Regions from separate parts of the Homo sapiens genome. Here all the other regions are linked to region 1. The links are contacts of gene promoters, found by promoter capture Hi-C in blood cells and fetal thymus (Javierre and others, 2016). All regions are on one chromosome and are shown on one strand. The core of a region is centred on a gene start or on the middle of the fragment in contact, and the rest is flanking DNA. Distances in the headings are between cores, read along the strand shown.

What was found. The method cuts DNA at HindIII sites, captures the fragments that hold promoters and counts their contacts. A CHiCAGO score of 5 or more calls a contact.
Region 2: the fragment with the promoter of ZNF329 here is called in contact with the fragment with the promoter of ZNF787 in region 1 in 2 of 17 cell types (neutrophils and naive CD8 T cells); the score reaches 9.3 in neutrophils.
Region 3: a contact is called between the fragment with the promoter of MZF1 here and the fragment with the promoter of ZNF787 in region 1, in 1 of 17 cell types (neutrophils). The highest score is 6.7, in neutrophils.

What each region holds. Positions count from the first base shown.
Region 1 is chr19:56,119,333-56,123,034 of GRCh38, reverse strand. It overlaps ZNF787 (zinc finger protein 787), which reads left to right and starts at 1,740. Exons shown (of 3, transcript NM_001002836.4): 1 at 1,740-1,863. LOC124904772 (a long non-coding RNA gene) reads right to left here and starts at 1,425. Exons shown (of 2, transcript XR_007067348.1): 1 at 1,103-1,425. RefSeq lists silencers at 1,244-1,613, 1,704-1,823, 1,834-1,913, 2,204-2,523, 2,604-2,653 and enhancers at 1,258-1,973, 2,401-2,695. The HindIII fragment of the contact is 11,888 bases long and covers 1-3,702 here.
Region 2 is chr19:58,148,520-58,152,230 of GRCh38, reverse strand. It overlaps ZNF329 (zinc finger protein 329), which reads left to right and starts at 1,442. Exons shown (of 4, transcript NM_024620.4): 1 at 1,442-1,479. RefSeq lists an enhancer at 1,306-1,365. The HindIII fragment of the contact is 7,703 bases long and covers 1-2,895 here.
Region 3 is chr19:58,570,851-58,574,821 of GRCh38, reverse strand. MZF1 (myeloid zinc finger 1) reads left to right here and starts at 1,487. Exons shown (of 6, transcript NM_198055.2): 1 at 1,487-1,767; 2 at 3,393-3,828. The coding sequence starts at 3,433. It overlaps MZF1-AS1 (MZF1 antisense RNA 1), which reads right to left. Exons shown (of 6, transcript NR_027334.2): 4 at 2,867-2,964; 5 at 1,999-2,244; 6 at 25-1,905. RefSeq lists enhancers at 1,113-1,542, 1,603-1,692, 1,061-1,920, 1,921-2,782. The HindIII fragment of the contact is 12,442 bases long and covers 1-3,971 here.

The DNA of each region.
Region 1 (3,702 bases), core at 491-2,990:
AGCACTTCACTCTCTTTTTTTTTTTTTTTTTTTTGAGACGGAGTCCCATTCCATCGCCCAGGCAAGAGTGCAGTGGTGCGATCTCAGCTCACTGCAACCTCTGCCTCCCAGGTTCAAGCCATTCTCCTGCCTCAGCCTCCCGAGTAGCTGGGATTACAGGTGTCCGCCACCACGCCCAGCTAATTTTTGTATTTTTAATAGATATGGGGTTTCACTATGTTGGCCAGGGTAGTCTCGAATTCCTGACCTCCTGACGTCTGCCTCTGCCTCCCAAAGTGTTGAGATTTACAGGTGTCAGCCACTGCACCCGGCCACACTTCCTTCTGTTCTAAGATATATTTAAAAATTTACCTTTGTGATATTTCTGAAGGAGGGACACAGATATCCTCCTATTGACACACACAGTTAACACAGCACTGTTCACCCCACCCCATGGAAAGATGTTATTAAATCAATAATATACATCTTATGATTGATGCTCACTGAGCTTTGAGGGTATACAGTGGCCACAACAATAGACTTATATGTAACACTGCTAATAGGTAATAATAACCACCATCATTTTTGTGAACTTACTATGGGCCAGGTATTGAACTAAGCAGCTCTTACACATATTACCTTGCAGGTTATCTTATTTTTTCCCATTCCACAGATGAGAAATTGAGGCTGAGAAAGGTGTTATTCCACCAGTGAATTATAGCTTCTTATCTTTTCTGACTACCAGTGAGGATGATAACAATTATAAGCGATAAGTCATCTGCCACTTAGGTGAGAGTCAGCCAAGTACAGAACAGAGGAAGGACCAGAAGGACCAGCCTACAAGGACACTATGGTTTGGACAATTATTTTAAAATATGTGTTTTTTGCAAGAATACCAACAGTAACAGCTAACACCCAGTGCGTCCTTACTAGGTGCCTACCTAACGCGGGGGAAGTAGTGGATTCTCAGGGCTATGACACGAGGCAGTGTGTACAGTCAAGGGTTAAATACACGAATTTAGAGCCAAACTCCATGGGTTCGGGCCGAGGCTCTGGCATTCCGGGTGTGTGACTTTTGGTAGGTGATTTGACTCCTCACCTGCAACATAGGGATAGGACCTACCATGAGGCCCTAGTTAGGACTAGGACCTAGTGCGTGTGAAGCACTTGGAGGCGCACAATGTATTTTCATCACTTCAGAAAGGAGGAAACTGAGGCCATGGCACCTGAAGCGCAGCACTCTCTGTCCAGTAACTAAGGAACCCGGGGTCTCTGTCCAGTAACTAAGGCACCTGGACTCGGGCCACTGGGAGGTGCAGCGGCAGAGAAGGGGTTACCATGATAGAGACGGTAGGAGGACCCGGGGTGGCACGAGCGTCCCTCTCCACCACTTCACTCTCCTCACGGCGGGCCCGGGGACCCGGCCGCGCAGGCGCGAGGAGCCCGGGTTGTCGGGGGGGCACCGCCCTAGACACCCGGAAGTCTCCGCCTAACGGGCCCAGCCCGCACCTCCTGTCCGGGAAGGGGGCGGGGCCGAAGCCCCTCGGCGCGGGGCGCCATAGAGCATGGACGGAGGACCTGCGTCCTAGACACTTCCGGAAGTGGCTCCCTCAGGCGCCCGCCGGGCACCACAGAGCTGGGGGCGGTGGCCGGGATAGCGGGCTCGCCTTCCTAGAGCGGCGAGGACAGGGTGGCGGCCCGGGGGGCAGGGAGTAGGGAGAAGGGGGGGAGCGGCGCGGGCGGAAGCGGCCGGGAAGGTCACTTCCGGCCTGGGCGCCCGTCCCCCTGACCCCAGGGTCTGAGTCGCCGCTGCCGCCGCTGCCACCATCCGCGAGGCAGGAGAGAGGAGGAGGAGTGCGGCGCGGCGGCCCCGGGACCAAGGAGGTGAGGGGTGGGGGCGGGGGCCGTGCGCTGGGGGCCAGGTGGGCGCGCGCTTCGGGAAGCTGGGCTTGGGCTGGGGGTGGGTGGGGAGACTGGAGGGCGAGCGCGACTGGGCGGCGGGCGCGCGTGCGCGCTGCTGGGGGGGCGTGAGTGGGCGCGCGGCCGGGGTGACGCGGGCGGGGGGAGTGCGCGTGCGCGCCGAAGAGCTGTGGGAGGGGACGCGCGCCCGGGCGGCCCGCGGGCGGCGAGCGGGGCTGGAGGGGGGGTGCGCGTGCGCGGGTCCGGGTCCAGGGCGCGCGCGTGCGCGTGGCGGGGGCAGGAGCGGGGGCCTCGGTGGGGGTCCCTCTGCTGCGGGCCGTCGGGGGTGGGGCCGCTGTCCGTCCCCCCGAAGTTCCAACTCCGCCGGTCGTGGCCGGAAGTGGTGGCGACTTCGGGGGGAAGTTGAGGCCCAGGTGGGGGAAGGGGCCGCGCGGTTGGGCTGGCCTGGCCGGATACCGCGGCCCCGAGGGCACGGTCTCAGCCCTCGGCCCCCCCAGCCCTTCCTTCCCCTTTTCGAGTCAGCCCGGGTCCCGTTGCTGCCCCGGGCGGGCTGCGCGTGGCCTTTGATCAGGCGGGTAATTACGGGGATTCTGGCCGGCAGGAGGCCCATTCATTCGTCCTTGCTCGGCAGGCGGGGAGGAAGCGCGTCCCCAGCGGGGGAAGTGACTGGGCCAAGGTCAGCCACCGCGTGGCCCACGGGGCAGGGCGAAGGCGGGGACTGGATCGGGTGGCGACTCCTGAGGCCTCCCTCCCCTGTGCCGAGTGGATCAGAGTGGAGCCCCGCCCTCCTGACACCCCACCCCGACCCCCAGTCCAGGGAGCTGACCCCAATTCATGTGGATGAGTGCTCTGGGACCTGCAGAGTCGCACAGAAAAGTGACCCACAGACACAGAAGGCAGGAGTGAGTGGAGGCAGAAGTTTTTCCAGTGCCAGGCCCTGTGCCGGGCACTAGAGACAGGGAGCAGGGAGATGAACAAGGGCTTGGAGTCTGGGTGGAAGGCAGAGACTGAGACCCGGGCGACAGAGTCGCCATCCAAGGTGACCAGACCCCTGATGGAGAGGTCTGGGGGCTGTGGGAGCCAGGGAAGGCATTTTGACCCAGCCCAGTCCGGGGGATGGTCAGGGCTTTAGGGAAGGAATGGCTTGGTCTGCTCTTTGCGGTGTCCTGCTCCCAGGTCCCATGTTGCGCAGTGCTTAGAACCCATCTGGGGATCCGATTGACCCCAGCGCCGGGAAGCACAGTTGCGTTGATCCTGGCTTAGCTCCTCTGAAGACCGTAAGCCTCTTTGGCTAAACGCTGCTGACATTCACCTGCCTGCCTCTGCGCAGTCCCTGTGGTCCTCCGGCCACGCACGGCCTCAGAGAACATCCAGATCAGATTCCTGCTTGCTTATCTCATGTCTTATCCATCCATCCGGGCACCCGGCCTGGCCCCTCCCTGGTGCACTGCCAGAGTGTGTGCAGGCACTGGGTTGTATTCCCCAAGAGCTCTGGGACTGGGCAGGCCTGGGTTCAAGTCCCAGCCCCACCACTCACCTTCGTGGCCTTAGACGAGTAACTTCAGTGCCTTACTTTCCACCAGGACAGAGTGGGAGTGGTAATAATAGTATTGACCTCAGCGGGAAGGCTCTTAATGCTTTCATTTTAGAGCCAGAGCAGACCTCAACAGATGGGTGTAAAGTAAATGGAAAGGGCTCTGGAGCCAGGCCCTTTCCTGGGCCTTGGCCTTGGCACTGTCTCTTCCACTTCTGTGACCTTGGACATGTCACTTCCCTTTTCCCAGGTTCAATTTCCCTTCAGTT
Region 2 (3,711 bases), core at 193-2,692, 2.0 Mb before region 1:
AGAAATTAAAAAAATACTTTCCATTCAGGAATAATATGTCAGTGTGTTCTGAACTTAACTTCAGGTCTGTTAATGAGGTTTTTGTATTTTCTTCATGAAGATCCTTTATTGCTTTTGCTAATTGATTTCCAAGTTGCTCCAACCATCACTATTGTGAGTGACAATTTAATCACTATTATGGCTTAGAATTTTTTTTCTAATTTTCATTTCAAAATTGTGAAGTATTTCAACCTGCGGAGAGGTTCGGAGAGTAATAGAATAATCTATAAATAATAAAGATGACACCCATGTATCATCGAGATTTTACCTGTGTTAACATGTAGTCAGATTTTCAGGTTTTGATTTGTTTTTTCCTATCAAGCATCACAGGTGTAACTGAGGTCTCCTTTGTCTCCTCCCCAACTCTTTCCCCTCAGTTGCCACTTTCTTGAGGTTGGACAATCTATCTGGTCCATGTTATTGTTACTTTACTACTTATGTATCAATCTCTGTATAACATATAGATTTTGTGTCTTTTATTTCCAGGTAAGTTGTATCATGTGGATAAGTGCACAGTTTACTTTTCGAACTGTTTTTGGAGAACTGTCTATCTTGTATATAAGTTAGTCCTTTTTTTTTTTTTTTTTTTTGAGACGAAGTCTCCCTCTTGTCCCCCAGGCTGGAGTGTGATGGTACGATCTCAGCTCACTGCAACCTCCGCCTCCCAGGTTCAAGTGATTCTCTTGCCTCAGCCTCCCGAGGAGCTGGGATTACAGGCGCCTGCCACCACGCCTAGCTAATTTTTGTATTTTTAGTGGAGACGGGGTTTCACCATGTTGGCCAGGCTGGTCTCAAACTCCTGACCTTAGGTGAGCCCAGTCCGTTTGTTTTAACCACCCCCTATTGCTCCGTTGCACATACCACAGTTTCTCTCTTCCCTGTCAGTAAATATTTAGGCTTCCCCATGCTAAAGTTTAAGAGAACCACTGAAAGAATGAAAATGTGTAGTTTTCATTTTCAACCGGCTATTGTTACTACAGAGGAAAGTTACTGGCTTTGTTTACATTTCTTAGATCTAGTCATTTTAACAAATTAGGCCTCCCAAAATGCTGGGATTACAGGCGTGAGCCACGCACCCAGTAAATAATTATATTGCCAATGAATAATGAGTGTACTTATTCTGAATTTTAACATTATTATCTCAAAAAAAGATTATAGATAAAGAAATATTTTAGGAAATTATGCAGTAAATAAAAGGAAGGCTCTATAACAAAAGAATGATAGCATCGGGTTAAAAATCAGAGGAGACCATAGGAGAAAGTAAATGCCTGCGCGTCCGCCCCGAGGCAAGTCCACGCCAGGGTAATGAATAACCCGGTACCCGCGGCCGCCCCAGCGTTGGGCGGGGGAAGCTCGGGGACTCCGCGCACGCGCACATCCTTGTCCCGGCAGCCGCGCAAGCGCAATCGCCCGGAACATGGCTGCCGCCGGCCGCCAACCGTAAGTGCCGACGCATCCCTGAGCCCTGCGCTGCCTCCGTTTCCTGCGGAGGGAAGTCTTGGCGGGTGGAGGTCCGCCGGGTCCTTGTGGGGCGGCGAGGGGCGCGTCCGCGGGTGGGTTTCACCTGGGTGGTGGGCATGTCGGGCCCGCTAGGGCGAGGGTCTGGCCAGGGGCGTAGTTCTCCTGGTGGGTGGGGACGCTCCGTGGCGATTGGGGTCACTCCTCTGAGGACGAGGTCGCTCCGGGGCTGGTCTGGACGCCCCCGCTCTTTCCTTAGCGTCACCCGTGAGTTCCGCGCTCGCATCTCTAGCCCGCCCTCCCATAGAGACTGTTTTGCCACGCCTGCTGGGTGTCCTGGTCCGTCTCCGGGGGTAACCCCCGAGTCTGCAGCTTTTCTGTCAGGTGTGAGGGGCAGTGTAGGCTTGGGTCGGCCTCCGGCTGAATTGGCGGCCGTGAGCCAGTGGGCTGAGCCGCTTCCCCTTGAGTCTCGAAGGTGTTAGATCACCTGTGTGTTTTTCCATTTGATATTTGCAAAATCATGTTTTACTGCAATTCTCAGTGAGGGCCGCATTTTTGCACGTGTTTAGTGACCATTTTGCTGTCTTTTCCCTTGGTTTAGTGGCATATTTCCTTTGTGCAGTCTTCCAGTCTCAATATTTTATGACATAAAATGTTGGTTTAGATAGAGAAGCTGAAAGACTTGTGCAGTGAACGACCCGGTTAACGTCTGCTGAACTTACTGTATCCCTTATCTTTCCTTCTGTCCATCCTTTCAGCCATTCATTAATCCACCTATTTTTGGAAACATTTCAAAGTAAGTTGCAGATATCACAACACTTCTCCCTCAAACACCTCACTATGCTTACCATGAATTAGAGTTCAGTAGTGCTTTTTTAAATTTTTTGAGCCAAAATTGACTTTCAGTGAAATGCACAGATATTCCCTGTACCATTGATGAATTTTGACAAATGCAACCTAAACCTTTATTAAAATTACCATCAGCCTGAAAAGGTCCTTTATTTTTTGCCAAGTTAAAAAATTTGGCTATAGGAACTTGGGCTTGTTGAAGTACGTTTTGAATACCCAGTTTTTGTCTGTTTTTTCTTTTTTCCCACAGCAAGTGACTTTCCTCCATTCTACTGCTTGTTTACCTCTCTCTTCACCCAACTTTTCATTTTGAAAAGTTCCGCATTTGCATAGAAGTTGCAGGAATAGTTTAACACTTCTAAAACCATCCAGATTCTAAAATTATTAACACTTTTTGCCACATTAGCTTTATCTTTATCTTCTCCCTGCCTGAGACACATGCATAGGTGTTACCAGAAAGGGGGTCCCGAGCTATAACCCAACAGAGGGTTCTTATATCTTGGGAAAGAAAATTCAGGGCGAGTCCATAGAGTAAAGTGAAAGCAAGCTTATTAAGAAAGTAAAGGAATAAAAAAATGGCTACTCCATAGATAGAGCAGCCCCAAGAACTGCTGGTCGCCCATTTTTATGGTTATTTCTTGATTATATGCTAAACAAGGGGTGGATTATTCATGCCTACCATTTTTAGGCCATATAGGGTAACTTCCTGATGTTTCCATGACATTTGTAAACTGTCATGGTGCTAGTGGGAGCAGGACCAGAGGTCACTCTCGTTGCCATCTTGGTTTTGGTGGGTTTTAGCCACCTTTACTGCAAGCTGTTTTATCAACAAGGTCTTTATGACCTGTATCTTGTGCAAATCTCCTGTGTTATCCTATGACCTAGAATGCCTTAACTGTCTGGAAATGCAGCCCAGTAGGTTTCAGCCTTATTTTACCCAGTCCCCATTTAAGATGGAGGTTTGCTTTGGTTCAAACGCCTCTGACATAGGGTTTTCTTTTTATATTTTACACACACTTGTACACACAGCAGGTGTTGCAGAGGCAGGTGTGATACAGACATATATTTACATACACTTAGTTTTTTTGGCTGAGTTACTGGAAGTATGTTATAGATATCATACCTCACTCTGAAATACTTCAGCCAGGATCTCATAAGAAAAGTAACGTTCTTATTTTTTAATTTTGTATTTTTTATAGAGATGAGATCTCACTATGTTGCCCAGACTGTTCTTGAACTCCTGGTCTTAAGCAGTCCTCCTGCCTTGGCCTCCCAAAGTGGTGGGATTACAGGTGTGAGCCACCACACCCAGCCAAAAAGAACATTTGAACATTTAAACAAAACTAGTGTTATTATCACACCCAA
Region 3 (3,971 bases), core at 238-2,737, 2.5 Mb before region 1:
AACAGTTAAAAACATGACTCTCAGTGAGCATGTGTCAAAAGATTTATTTACCGTACTGAGGGAAGCAGCAAGATGATTCTAGGAAGACAGGAAAGGAAGAATAAACACTGGCCGGCCGCGGTGGCTCACACCTGTAATTCCAGCAATTTGGGAGGCCGAGGTGGGCGGATCACCAGAGGTCTGGAGGTCAAGACCAGTCTGGCCAACATGGTAAAACCCCATCTCTACTAAAAATACAAAAATCAGCCGGGTGTGGTGGAGCAGCCTGCAGTCCCAGCTACTCGGGAGGCTGAGGCAGGAGAATCGCTTGAACCTGGGAGACGGAGGTTGCAGTGAGCCGAGATCGTGCCACTGCACTCCAGTCTGGCAACAGCGAGACTCCGTCAAAAAAAAAAAAAAAAAAAAGAAAGAAAGAAAAAGAAAAACACTGAAATAAAAGCACAAAGTTGGATACAAAACTGCTTAGTGAGCTACAAAGCGATACACTGGACAGAAAGCATTTGCAACCTATCAACCTGTACAGGGTAGCATATAACTGGACAGCATCTGGACTCCTAAGTTTTCCTAACAGTTTTACCTCGGATTCTCCCTGTCTCTCTTCGTGCTGTCATCTTTCTCTAGGTCTTCGAAAACTGTCAATCCATCTTACTGTATCTCTAATTTCTGTCCCTTTTCTCCCTTCTTGTTTCTGTCCCTCTCCCTTCTTGTCTACCTCTTGAGTCTGGATATCTGCATTTCTTGTCTCTGTGAACCCATTCTGCGTTTCCTTCTTTGTGTCTCTTTCATCTGCATCCCTTTCTGATCTGCCTCTCTCTTGCTAACTGTTCTGACACCTGTTTGCCCGGCCCTGACCCTCTGATCCACTCAGCCCTCTTATAACTTGGACCCGTGTCTCTATGTTTGTTCACTTATTTTCACTGTCTCTCCTCGCGTCGAGTCTCCGGTCCTCCCAGTCTGTGAGTCTGTCTCTCTGTCTCTCTCTCTCTTCCTCCCGCCGGTCCTTCGTCTCTCTTTGCCCTTGAGTCTCTGGTCTCTCTCCGTCTCTCCTCGCTGTTTCTATCGATCGGCATCTCTCTGCCCCAGTACCCTTCCCCACCTCTTCATCCCACATGCCCCATTGCATTTTCAACGCCCGCCGCGTCTCCGGGTTACCCAGGCGATGTCGAGTCGTGTCCCCAGGTTACCATGGAGACGTTCAGGGCCCGCCCCTCGCCCATGATCACAGAGGAACGTCATCGCGCCGCGCGCGCACGTACACACGAAGGGCCTGCTGACTACATCTGCCGGAAAGCATCGGGCCAAGCCTTTCTCCATTTTGCGGTCTAGGAAGTAGCAGAGGCCCCTTCCTGTAGGGAGTTGCCATGGAGACGCGGTGGGGCACCGACGGAGTTCTAATGACGGCCGTGATTGGTGCAGGATCCTGCTAATCTCAGGAAGGCCCGTAGAGAAGTGAGGAAAACGTGGTGGGGGGCATGCGCGATCTGGTAGGCGGTGCTGCCGTCTGTTGTACCTGAGAGGCTTGCGCATGCCGACGCACGGATTCGAGGCGGGGAGCATGGGAAGAAGCGGCCAGGAGTATGACCTGATCATTGCGACCACCGCTAGGGGAAGGGAGGAGAGGGTGTAGAAACGGGGACGAGGGTGGGGGAAGGGCAAGGAGGCGCTCGAGCTGGTGCGCGGAGCATCCTGGGAGACGTAGTCCAGCGGGAGGGGGAAGTCGAAGACTGCGCGTGCTCAGGAGCGCGGAGCGGCCCGCTGAGCGCAGAGGTGAGGGCGGGGTCCTCTTAACCGGGAGGGCTATCGTGTGGACGGGGGCGGTGGCTGCAGACTCGGGGATTCCGGCTCCCCAGTGAGACCGGAAGCGCGGGGAACGAATCCGGGCAGTCCTTGCGGGAGCGCCCAGGGCTAGAGCGAGAGGCTTGTCAATCACTACTCGTTGCCACGACGACAGGCTTTGGGAGCCCCGCCCCCGGTTGCCTAGGCGTCGTCTGGACCTACCTTGGCACCCTGGAGCGGAAGTTGCCGCCTGGACTTCTGGGAAGTGTATTTCGGGACCCTCCGTAGGTACCTGCCATCTTGGCTATGACCCAAGTCTCTCCCAGGGTTTCAGGTTGACTTGGCACCTTGAAGAGTGGAGGCTTGGCCCCCAGGATGAGGCGGCCCTCGAAATCGATGCCACCCACGGGGGAATGATTCTGCGGTGCCATCCCCTTCATAAACGCAGATTCCTTCCTAAAGCCGCAGCTGCAGAAGGAACAGCGCGAGGAGGGAGGTCAGCCCCACTTGCAAATGGGGAAACAAGTTCTCGAAGGCACAGTGATCTGAAGATGGGCGGAATCAGAGTCTCGGGACTTCCTTGCAGGCTCCTGTTCCGGCAGTCTTGGAGCCTTTGCCGCCCCCCCACCCATTGCGAAGCTCCCCCATCCCCTTCCAACCCCAGCTAAATCAGGAAGCTGAGATGGGGCATTGCGTAGTGTGATGTTGGGCTTAGAAGATGGGGCTGAGTAGGGAGAGAGGGTGCTGCCTGGGAGCTGAGCCATACAAGTGACTGCACAGGTTGACATGGAGGATTAGGTGGAGTGAGGCTTCCAAGCAGGGAGGGGAATGATGGTGGGGCCCAAATGAGGAGCCACATCGAAGTAGATGAGAGAATAGAAGGTGAAGTAAGGGCTGGCGTTGGGTAGGGGGAGACGCCAGCAGTGATGCTGATGCCCAGGCTGTAGGTGTATAGGTGCCATCCACCTGGTAAAGAGAGAGCTGTAGCGCAGGAATGAGGTTGCACATGTAGAAGAAGGGAAGGATACAGGGGAGAGAAGTGTCTTCTAGTCCTAAAAAACAGCCTGTGGGCTGGCATGGTGGAACAAACCTGTAAGTCCCAGCACTTCGGGAGGTCAAGGTAAGAGGATCATCTGCTTGAGCCCAGGAGTTCAAGAACAGCCTAGGCAACATAGTAAGATCCCATCCCTACAGAAAAATTAAGAAATTAGCCGGATGTCGTGGCACACACCTGTTGTCTCAGCTACTTGGGAGGCCGATCTCTGGAGCCCGGGAGGTCAAGTCTGCAGTGACGCATGATCTCGCCACTGCACTTCAGCCTGGGCAACTGACTGACAGCATGTCTCAAAGAAAAGAAAAAAAAGCCTGTGTTTGGAGCAGGGAGACTGTCAGAGACTTTGCACAGGCCCAAGCGGAGAGAAGACCAGGGATACAGGTGGCTAAGGGAGGGCTTCCAGCTGCATAAGTCTGTGGGTTGTAGATGGCCTTTCTTTGCCTGTTTCCTCATCTGCCTTCCACATGGGGTAGGTCTGAGGATCAAACGGTACAGCATAGACTAGGCAGTGAAGCATTCACTGTACTCCTTTTGCAACAGCCTCATCCTATTTCTTCACCAGGGGCAGACACTGGCCTCAGATACCTGACCTGGTACCCTCTATGAGGCCTGCGGTGCTGGGCTCCCCAGACCGAGCACCCCCAGAAGATGAGGGGCCTGTCATGGTGAAGCTAGAGGACTCTGAGGAGGAGGGTGAGGCTGCCTTATGGGACCCAGGCCCTGAAGCTGCACGCCTGCGTTTCCGGTGCTTCCGCTATGAGGAGGCCACAGGGCCCCAAGAGGCCCTGGCCCAGCTCCGAGAGCTGTGTCGCCAGTGGCTGCGTCCAGAGGTACGCTCCAAGGAGCAGATGCTGGAGCTGTTGGTGCTGGAGCAGTTCCTGGGCGCACTGCCCCCTGAGATCCAGGCCCGTGTGCAGGGGCAGCGGCCAGGCAGCCCCGAGGAGGCTGCTGCCCTAGTAGATGGGCTGCGCCGGGAGCCGGGCGGACCCCGGAGATGGGTGAGTGAGTGTCCACGAGTGGGGTTCAGGACTGGAGCATCATCCAGCTCGGCCTCACCCTGGGCAGCACCACGCTTTGCCAGACACACGTTCTCCCTTGTGGTACAGAAGTGGCCACCTGCAACAGAGACCCTGTGCAAGGC